Regions from separate parts of the Homo sapiens genome. Here all the other regions are linked to region 2. Evidence: promoter capture Hi-C in human tissues and cell types (Jung and others, 2019). All regions are on one chromosome and are shown on one strand. The core of a region is centred on a gene start or on the middle of the fragment in contact, and the rest is flanking DNA. Distances in the headings are between cores, read along the strand shown. Region 1 holds the start of GID8 (GID complex subunit 8 homolog). Region 2 holds the start of PPDPF (pancreatic progenitor cell differentiation and proliferation factor). Region 3 holds the start of NPBWR2 (neuropeptides B and W receptor 2).

Evidence for each region. The method cuts DNA at HindIII sites, captures the fragments that hold promoters and counts their contacts. A contact is called where the count stands out against the background at its distance.
Region 1: a contact is called between the fragment with the promoter of GID8 here and the fragment with the promoter of PPDPF in region 2, in 1 of the 25 tissues and cell types used here (dorsolateral prefrontal cortex).
Region 3: the fragment with the promoter of NPBWR2 here is called in contact with the fragment with the promoter of PPDPF in region 2 in 3 of the 25 tissues and cell types used here (dorsolateral prefrontal cortex, lymphoblastoid cells and spleen).

Annotation. Positions count from the first base shown.
Region 1 is chr20:62,936,764-62,939,463 of GRCh38, forward strand. It overlaps GID8 (GID complex subunit 8 homolog), which reads left to right and starts at 1,384. Exons shown (of 5, transcript NM_017896.3): 1 at 1,384-1,490. It also overlaps a transcript of DIDO1 not described here. RefSeq lists silencers at 585-634, 905-954, 1,325-1,554, 1,625-1,754 and an enhancer at 1,450-2,118. The HindIII fragment of the contact is 10,021 bases long and covers 1-2,700 here.
Region 2 is chr20:63,519,510-63,522,209 of GRCh38, forward strand. PPDPF (pancreatic progenitor cell differentiation and proliferation factor) reads left to right here and starts at 1,256. Exons shown (of 4, transcript NM_024299.4): 1 at 1,256-1,385; 2 at 1,775-1,854; 3 at 2,003-2,080; 4 at 2,159-2,697. The coding sequence starts at 1,800. The coding sequence ends at 2,370. LOC102723814 (a long non-coding RNA gene) reads right to left here and starts at 1,164. Exons shown (of 2, transcript XR_430332.4): 1 at 1-1,164. RefSeq lists enhancers at 1-389, 390-1,266 and silencers at 539-788, 849-1,398, 1,509-1,708. The HindIII fragment of the contact is 19,807 bases long and covers 1-2,700 here.
Region 3 is chr20:64,106,197-64,108,906 of GRCh38, forward strand. It overlaps NPBWR2 (neuropeptides B and W receptor 2), which reads right to left and starts at 1,369. Exons shown (of 2, transcript NM_005286.4): 1 at 1,168-1,369; 2 at 1-726. The coding sequence starts at 635. RefSeq lists an enhancer at 917-1,417. The HindIII fragment of the contact is 24,186 bases long and covers 1-2,710 here.

The sequences.
Region 1 (2,700 bases), core at 134-2,633, 580 kb before region 2:
TGAGGCAGGAGAATCGCTTGAACCCGGGAGGCGGAGGTTGCAGTGAGCCGAGATGGCGCCACTGCGCTCCAGCCTGGGCGAGAGTGAGACTTCGTCTCAAAATAAATAACTAAATAAAGACCAATAACTGTTTCCCATAGGGTTATGTAGTTGCAAATGAAAAAATTACTGGCATGTACTGCCTCTGCATATGAAGCATAATTTTGTCAAGACCTTATACCTGCAGATTTAGCTCTTTCGATTAACGGAAAATGTCCAAAATCAGTCTCCTCCAACCTATTTGCCGAACTGGACTTACTGTCGCTGAGTAGACCGACCGACATAGCTTACACGTTGTTCAGCTCGCTTGTAAGCAAACACACGAAACCACCTCACCCCTGACTTCAGAAAGAAGCCGTCCCGTGAATTCCTCACAGATGAAATCAGGAGCTGCCCCTCAAGGACTCTATTTCTTCCTTCGGCTCTATCAAATATTTTAAGGTACTTCCCAGCAACGGAAACATGGGACCCTGCAATGACAGACTTCGCATTCCTCCTGAGCGGACAGGCAATAAGCAAGTAAACGCGCAAATACCCAAGTGCGGCCTCAACCCGCGCTCCTGCCGGGAGGGTCTCCAGTCACCGAGTAACCCCGGCCCTGCCCCGCGCCGCCGCCGGGACTCCGCCCCGCAAGCAAGTGGGGTCTCCTTTGTCCCGCGCGCCCTGGCCGCGTCCCGCCCTTCGGCGTAGCCCATGGGAGGCGCCCTGAGGGCAGGGCCCTTCTGATTCCCCACCTGGCCTCGAGTGAGGACGCGCTCAACAACATCTCGAGTAAAGCGGGGGAACTCGCTTCAACGCGCAGACAGCACAGCTCTCGCCCAGCCCGGTCTCGGGTCAGCCGTCTCTCCCTGGACCTCAGGGACACTAGCCCTGGAAGGCCGCCGGTCGGGAGGGGACTCCCTCCCCGTCTGAGGGGCGGCCGCGGACACCCGGCGCCTTTCCCCCGCCCCACCCCGTGCGGCCTCACGCAAACGACAGGAAAAAAGCTGGGACCTTCGCCTCCGACTCAGTGTAGACGTCGCCATCCCGGTTCCAGATTTCCGCGCTCCAACGCCTCCGCAGCAGCCATCTTGCCAGAGGGCCGACGCCTTTTGACTCTGGCGCCAACCCGTAGTGCGTGGTCGCCGCGAGGGGAGTTCTGCGCAAGTACGGAAGCTGAGGTTCCGCGCTTCCGGGAGGCCGTCCGCCCCGCCCCCTCGCGGGGGCGCTTCATTGGTCATCGGCTCGCGCTCTCGCGCTCTCTTGCTGTCGCGAGAGGTGCTGAGGGGCGGCCTCCGGTGCGCCTGCCCTCCCGCTCCCCGCCCCCGCCCCCGCCCCCGCCTCCGCCGCGGCCCCCACCTCTGCCTCCTTCTACTCGGGCGCCCCGGCGGCCGCCACCTCTCCCCAGCCCAGGAGAGGCTGCGGAGCCGCAGCCGCCCAGACCGCGCAGCGCGGGAGGCAGGTTCCGCACGGTAAGATGGCGGCGGCGGGCCCGGGCGGCCGGGCCGAGCGTCTCCCGGGGCCGGGCCGGGCGGGCAGGCGGGATGTGGCCGGGGTGCGCGCCGCCCCCGCTCTGGGGGCCTTGGAAGCGCCGGCGCTGGCAGGTGCGGAATTGGGGCGCGCAGTGAGTCCAGGCCCGGACGGCCGCCCCGCGCCGGTGCCCAGGGGGCAGTCAGGGCTCAGCCTCCAGGCGCGCGGCCTCAGGCGCTGGTGTTCTGGGGCGGTCCCGGCCAGCCTGAGGGGCGGCGGTAGCTGTCTCTGTGGAGGAGCGACGTCCGTAACGAAGTCTTTTTAATAAAATCTGCTGCTTTAAAGCAGAAACCGAGCGGGTGAGGATGTAAAGTGTGGCATGGAAAGTAGGAGTCTTCAGCACACGGGTGTTTTCTTCTGCTGAATCTTTTTATGCTGGAGTTTGAGACTACCGAGTTCTTCCTGCTAACAGGACTGGCCAGTTCTACAAAGTTGTTGCTTTTCATGGGCGCACGTAACTGCCCGGAGTGGAAGCGCTGTGAGTGCCGATCACCGAATGGGCCGAGAGAAAAGGTGCCTTTTCCTAGGGAGCTCTTAACGTTGGTCCTAGGGCCGGGCGCGGTGGCGGAGGTCGAAGTGGGCGGATCACTTGAGCCCGCGAGTTCGAGACCAGCCGTGGCAACAGCGAGACTCCCTTCTCTGCTAAAAATAAAAAAATTAGCCAGGCAGAGTGGTGCGCTCCTGTTGTCCCAGTTACTCTGGAGGCTGAGGTGGGAGGATCGCTTGAGCCCAGGAGGTCGAGGCTGCGGTGAGCCATGATCGCGCCACTGCCCTCCAGCCTGGGCGACAGAGCGAGGCTCTGTCTCAAAAAAAAAAGAAAAAGAAAATGAGTCCTTAAGTTACCATTAATTGTCGTGAATAAAAAGTTGGTCTCAGTGAGTTTTGCAGTTGACAACGAAAGATGGGTGTTCGTGTGTGACAGCGACTCCTGGTTTCTCCTCCACTTTACCTGCCGCTCCACATCAAGTTTTCTTCTGCTGGTGCCACTTTCTCTGCTTTACCTTCAAGGTTGGCATCCTCCAAGTAATGGCGATTCTCATTCCCTATCTACGCTCTTCCTATGGTCTTTGCTGAATTCTTGGCTTTAAATATCCCTGTGCCCCAGCACCGCCCCCCCCGCCCCTTATTTCACTAATTCATGTTTTCAGCTCT
Region 2 (2,700 bases), core at 6-2,505:
CGCTTGGCTCGGCCATGTGCACATAGTAGGTGCTTACCACACTCGTGCAATGAACACACAGAGCGGTGCAGGGCCCAGGACAGCGCCTTCCCCACGTGCTCAGGGGGCACAAGGGCGTCCCTCCAAGTCTTGCTCAGGGGCCTCCCAGGGTCCCTGCCCAGCTGTGGGTCCTCACTGAGCACCCGGCGAGGACAGAGTACGGCATCCGTTGGCCTCGATCTCCGGAACAACACGGGCACACGGCCGTCCCAGCCAGCAACGAGAGCCACGAAACAAATCCACCCGGGCTGACTCCCGAAGCCCTCGGACTGTTCCGCCCCACGGACCTCCCGGACCCTCTCTTCCACGGGGAAGACACCGCCCAGCCAGGACCGGGTGTATAAAGAAACGGGATTTCCGTAGGGGCAGGCCGATTTCCCCTGCGGGGCCGAGGGAGGTGTGGGGAGGATTCTGCGCTGGGGGGAGGAGGAGAGGGAGGACGCCTTTCTGCCTGGGAAGGGAAAACGCGCCCCCTCCTGATTGGCATGGCGGGCCGTCCCCCGGGCCCCAGGGCCCTGCCGGGAACGCTCTGGGCTCCCCAAACATGGGGTCTCCGAGCAGTGGGGCCCAGCCTCTGCCTCCGGCGACTGGAGACTCACCTCACCCGCCCAAATCCGCCCCGCTCTCCGACTGGGCCCCGCCTCCCACTGCCCCGCCATCCGCCCACCCTTTCACCGCCCCCTGCGGGCAGCAGGCGCGTCCTGGGGCTGGGCAACCGGGGTGCAGGTTCCGGAGCTGCCAGAGCTGTGAGGGGGACTCGGGAGAGATCCAGGTTCCTCTGGCTGCGAAGTCCCTGGAGGCCGGGCCGGAGGGCTCCGCGCACGTAGCACTTTTTGGCCCGCCCGGCGCCCCCGTCGCCTCCACAAGGGCTGAAGAGGACGGGCGGGCTGGACCAGGCGGGGCTCCGAGACGCGTCCGAGACGGGGGCCTGGGCCCGGGAGAGGGGCGGGGGCTGGGCTCCCGGACCCGGGCGCGGGGCCTTTTAACCCCTGCAGACCCAGGACCGGCCGGGCCGCCCCAAGACGAACGCCGCAGGGCTGGGCTCAGCCCAAGCCAGACGGCGAGAGTCGCACCGAGGTGGAAGCTGGGGGCGCGGCCTCGCCGGGGCCAGGAAAGGGGCGGGGCCGGGTGGGGCCCGGGGAGGAGCCTGTGCGCCCCGCCCTCCGTGACGCGCCGCGGCCCCCGCGCATATAAGTGGGCGCGTCCGCGCGTGCGCACCCCGCGCGCGCCTCTCTGTCGTGGCGCGGCTTCCCGCGGTCTTCTCTGCAAATGGGCTCCGTGGCCTAGCGCCCCCGTCCCCGCCACCCGTGATCGTGCGCCGAGGCCCGCGAGGGGTCGCCGCCCAGGTGAGGGGCGCCGCGCGCGGGTGGGACGAGCAGGCCCGAGGGGCGGGGGGCGAGGGGCGGGGCTGGGCCGGGGGCTCCTCTCCTCTCCGCCTGGCGAGCGCTGGGCTCGGGGTCCCCGGCGGGCTCCTCTCGGGTCGGGCGGGTTGGGACGGCGCCCACCAGGTTCCCGACGTCTGGGCCGGGGCCCCGCGCACAAAGCGCCTTTGTTCCACCCGCTCGGCCGGTTTGGGCTGGTTGGAGCCGCCCGCGCCCCGCGCGGCGAAGGCGGTGCCGGGAGCTGGGGAGCCCCGCCTCGGTAAATAACCCAGCGCGGCGGCTCCACCCGCTGGGGAGCGCCCTTCATGACGGAAGGCCGCTGACCCGAGGGGCTCCTCCACCCCCATGCGCAGATCCCACCAGCCAGCAAGCTAAAGCATGGCGGCCATCCCCTCCAGCGGCTCGCTCGTGGCCACCCACGACTACTACCGGCGTGAGTAGCCCCTGCCCCCCATCCACGCGGATGCTCTGCTGGCGCCAGTGCCGGCCCCGTGCAGGCTGCGGAACCAGCGCTCGGCCTGAAGGCCGGTGGGCTGGGGGGCTCCGCGCCCCGCGTTGCTGACGGGACCTCTCCTCTCCAGGCCGCCTGGGTTCCACTTCCAGCAACAGCTCCTGCAGCAGTACCGAGTGCCCCGGGGAAGCCATTCCCCACCCCCCAGGTGAGTGCAGGATCGCCCCTTTCTCCCCCCGCTCCTCCAGGAGCTGGCAGCATCAAGACCCCACTTCGCTTCTCTCAGGTCTCCCCAAGGCTGACCCGGGTCATTGGTGGGCCAGCTTCTTTTTCGGGAAGTCCACCCTCCCGTTCATGGCCACGGTGTTGGAGTCCGCAGAGCACTCGGAACCTCCCCAGGCCTCCAGCAGCATGACCGCCTGTGGCCTGGCTCGGGACGCCCCGAGGAAGCAGCCCGGCGGTCAGTCCAGCACAGCCAGCGCTGGGCCCCCGTCCTGACCTGAGCGGTTACCACCAGCCCCAGGCCTGCGGAGGCGCTAGTCCACCAGAGCCCCTCCCCGCCCCTCTCCCCACTCCGCATCCCTCGCCCCCCTCCCCACCTCCCACCCCCCACCCTGTAAACTAGGCGGCTGCAGCAAGCAGACCTTCGCATCAACACAGCAGACACCAAAAACCAGTGAGAGCCCCGCTCTCTACCGCCCGGCCCCAGCACTCGCTAGCTTTCCTGACACCTGGAACTGTGCACCTGGCACCAAGCGGAAAATAAACTCCAAGCAGCCAGTAGCCCCGATGGTGTGTGCCTGAGCTGTGTGGCCCGAGGTTCCATTT
Region 3 (2,710 bases), core at 119-2,618, 590 kb after region 2:
CTGGCCTTGAACCAGACCTGCTCGGGCCACGGGAAGCTCAGCCCACAGCTTGGGACCTGCAGCTCGTTGCTGTAGACGCCAGCGAAAGAGAAGAAGGGCAGAACCAGGACCGTGACGCCCAGCCAGACACACAGGCTGGCGACCTTCGCCCCCCGGTAGGTGCGCCAGGGCATGTGGCGGGACCTCACGGTGGCCAGCACCACCAGGTATCGGTCCACGCTCATCACGGCTAGGAAGTAGATGCTGGAGAAGATGTTGTAGTGGTCGACGGCCAGCACCAGCTTGCAGAGCAGCTCCCCGAAGGGCCAGTACTGCAGCAGGTGCTCCGCGATGTTGACGGGCAGTACCAGCGTGAAGAGCCCGTCGGCGACGGCCAGGTTCAGGATGAACACGTTGGTCACCGTCTTCATCTTGGGCGCCCTTAGGATTACAAGGATGACGGCCGTGTTGCCAGTCAGCCCCACAGCACAGATCCCGGAGTACACGGCGGGCAGGAGCACATAGAGGAACGGCAGTGGCTCGGAGAAGGTGGCATTGTGGCCAGTGCCATTGTCCTGAGAGACGTTGGCACCCATCGTGGGGAGGGAGAAGGAGCCCCTGCTGTCAAGGGGCTCTGGGTGCCCAGCGGCCTGCATTGTAGCTGGGACCGTTGACGATTTGCGCCCTGGGCAGGTGGGAGGTGCCTTGGAGTTGGGTATCTGGTTGGGGGCCTCCTTGGGCTGGATTCTAGGAAAGAAAAACAACCAGAGACTTTGAGATCCGGCCGTCTGTTAGGGCACAGCCACTCCAGGTTCTCTGGCAGAGACTGCGGCCACTTTGCCAGGTCAAGGACATGGGGCCAGAGGGAGCCTGGTGGGGTGTGTGGGGGCCTCCTCCCGCCTCTTCCTGGTGAGACTTCAGCAGATCAGTTCCCTCCTCCCGCAGAGAGCAGCTGCTGGCCACCCTCCTGGGAAGAGATGTGGATCCGTCCCTGCCCCAGCAACCCGCAGATGCACGGGCTGCGTAGAATCAAGCGGTCCCTTTGGAAACACACCTCCCAAGCTCATCTCTGGCTCCCTTGAATCTGAAGGTCCTTCCCTCAGGGGTCTTGGAGTCTGCACCCTCCCTCACACCCTCCCGAGAGATGCTGCAGACCCTGCTGGTCCAGCTACTCTTCTCTCCACTGACCTGTCCAGTGCTTCGAGTCCAGAAGTTGGTAGCCTTGGTGTGTTCCTGGTTTTGGCCAGTACAGGCAGTCGCAGGGATGGAGGGCGAGGTGTGGTCCTCACTGACAGACCTCCAGCTGAGGTTTCAGGAGTTTCAAGACCTGCCCTGCTGGCTGCCTCAGCCCCGGCTGCGAGGTTCCCAGCCTGGTGTCAGTGCTGATGCTGGTGAGGGAGGGAGGCGGATCCCCCTTGCTGACGTGGAGCCCGGAAGGCAGGCCCCACCTTCCCCTGAGCTGCAGTAGCGCCTGCAGTCGGCTGTCCCAGGGTCTCCTCAGCATTCACTTACCCAGGCAGACTCCTCAGTGGGCGGCTGAGGCACGTGTGCGCCTGTGTGTCAGGAAGGGACTCCATGCAGGGGCCTCTGGGTGTGCCCAGGTCTTCGGGCAGAGGGCACTGAAGGCATCTGTGCCTCTGTCCGGGAGTCACTGTGGGCCTGGGCACCCTTATCTGTGAACATGGGTGTCTTGGTGGGTCTCCTGCCCCACCCTGTGTGTGTACATGGTGTGTTCCTGTGTGTGTGTGCCAGTTAGGACATGTACGTGTGTGGGCCTGTGTCTGCCTGTATGGGGGTCTCTGTGGGTGAGCTCTGCGTTGTATCTGAGTGGGTCTACATGTCCTTGGCTGAGTGTGGGCATCTGGGGGGTCTGTATGCCCTCATGTGGAAGCAGAACTTGTTGGCCATAGGCAACCCACCTTCTTTTTTTGTCTTTTGCTAAAAGAGGAACTCAGCCTAGGCAAGCTGTGAAAGGCTGCAGAGAAGACGTTCTCACGCTGACACGTAACTCTCCCGCCGTCCTGCAGAGGTGGTGAGCATCACACTCTGCTCTGGGTTGGTCTTTAAGTCCTTCCCTTCTCCCTGCTTTTCTTCCTTGCTGGACGCACCCTGGCTTATCCAACCCGTGTGTGTGCAGCTCGGCCGCATCTGGACCTGCTTTGCAGGCAACGCCACAGCTGACACGAGCAGTCGCCAGTCTCAGAGCCGCTCCTCAGCGGAGACGTGTTGGGTCAGAGGGTCTGTGTTTTCTTTCCTTTCTTCTTTTTTGAGACAGGGTCTTGCCCTGTCACCCAGGCTGGGGTGCAGTGGCACTATCATGGCTCACTGCAGCCCTGACCTCCCTGGGCTCAGGTGATCCTCCCACCTCAGCCTCTCAAGTAGCTGGGACTACAGGCATGTGCCACCATGCCTGGCTAATTTTTGTGTTTTTTTTTGTAGAGACGGGGTTTCACCATGTTGCCCAGGCTGGTCTCGATCTCCTGAGCTTCAGCCTCTACCTCAGCCTCCCAAAGTGCTCAGGTTATAGCCATGACCCACCGTGCCTGGTCACTGTGTGTTTTCAGTCTGGGGAGATGTGTCTGCCCATCGAGACTGTGCCCGCTGCCTGTGGGGTTGCAAGGATGTCACCGCACACTCATGGTCGGCCTTCTTTCCTGAGAGTTGCTCTGTCAAGTCTATTGGTTAGGACAGGAGCCTGGGCAGTCGCCCTGAGTACCCTGATGTCGCCAGC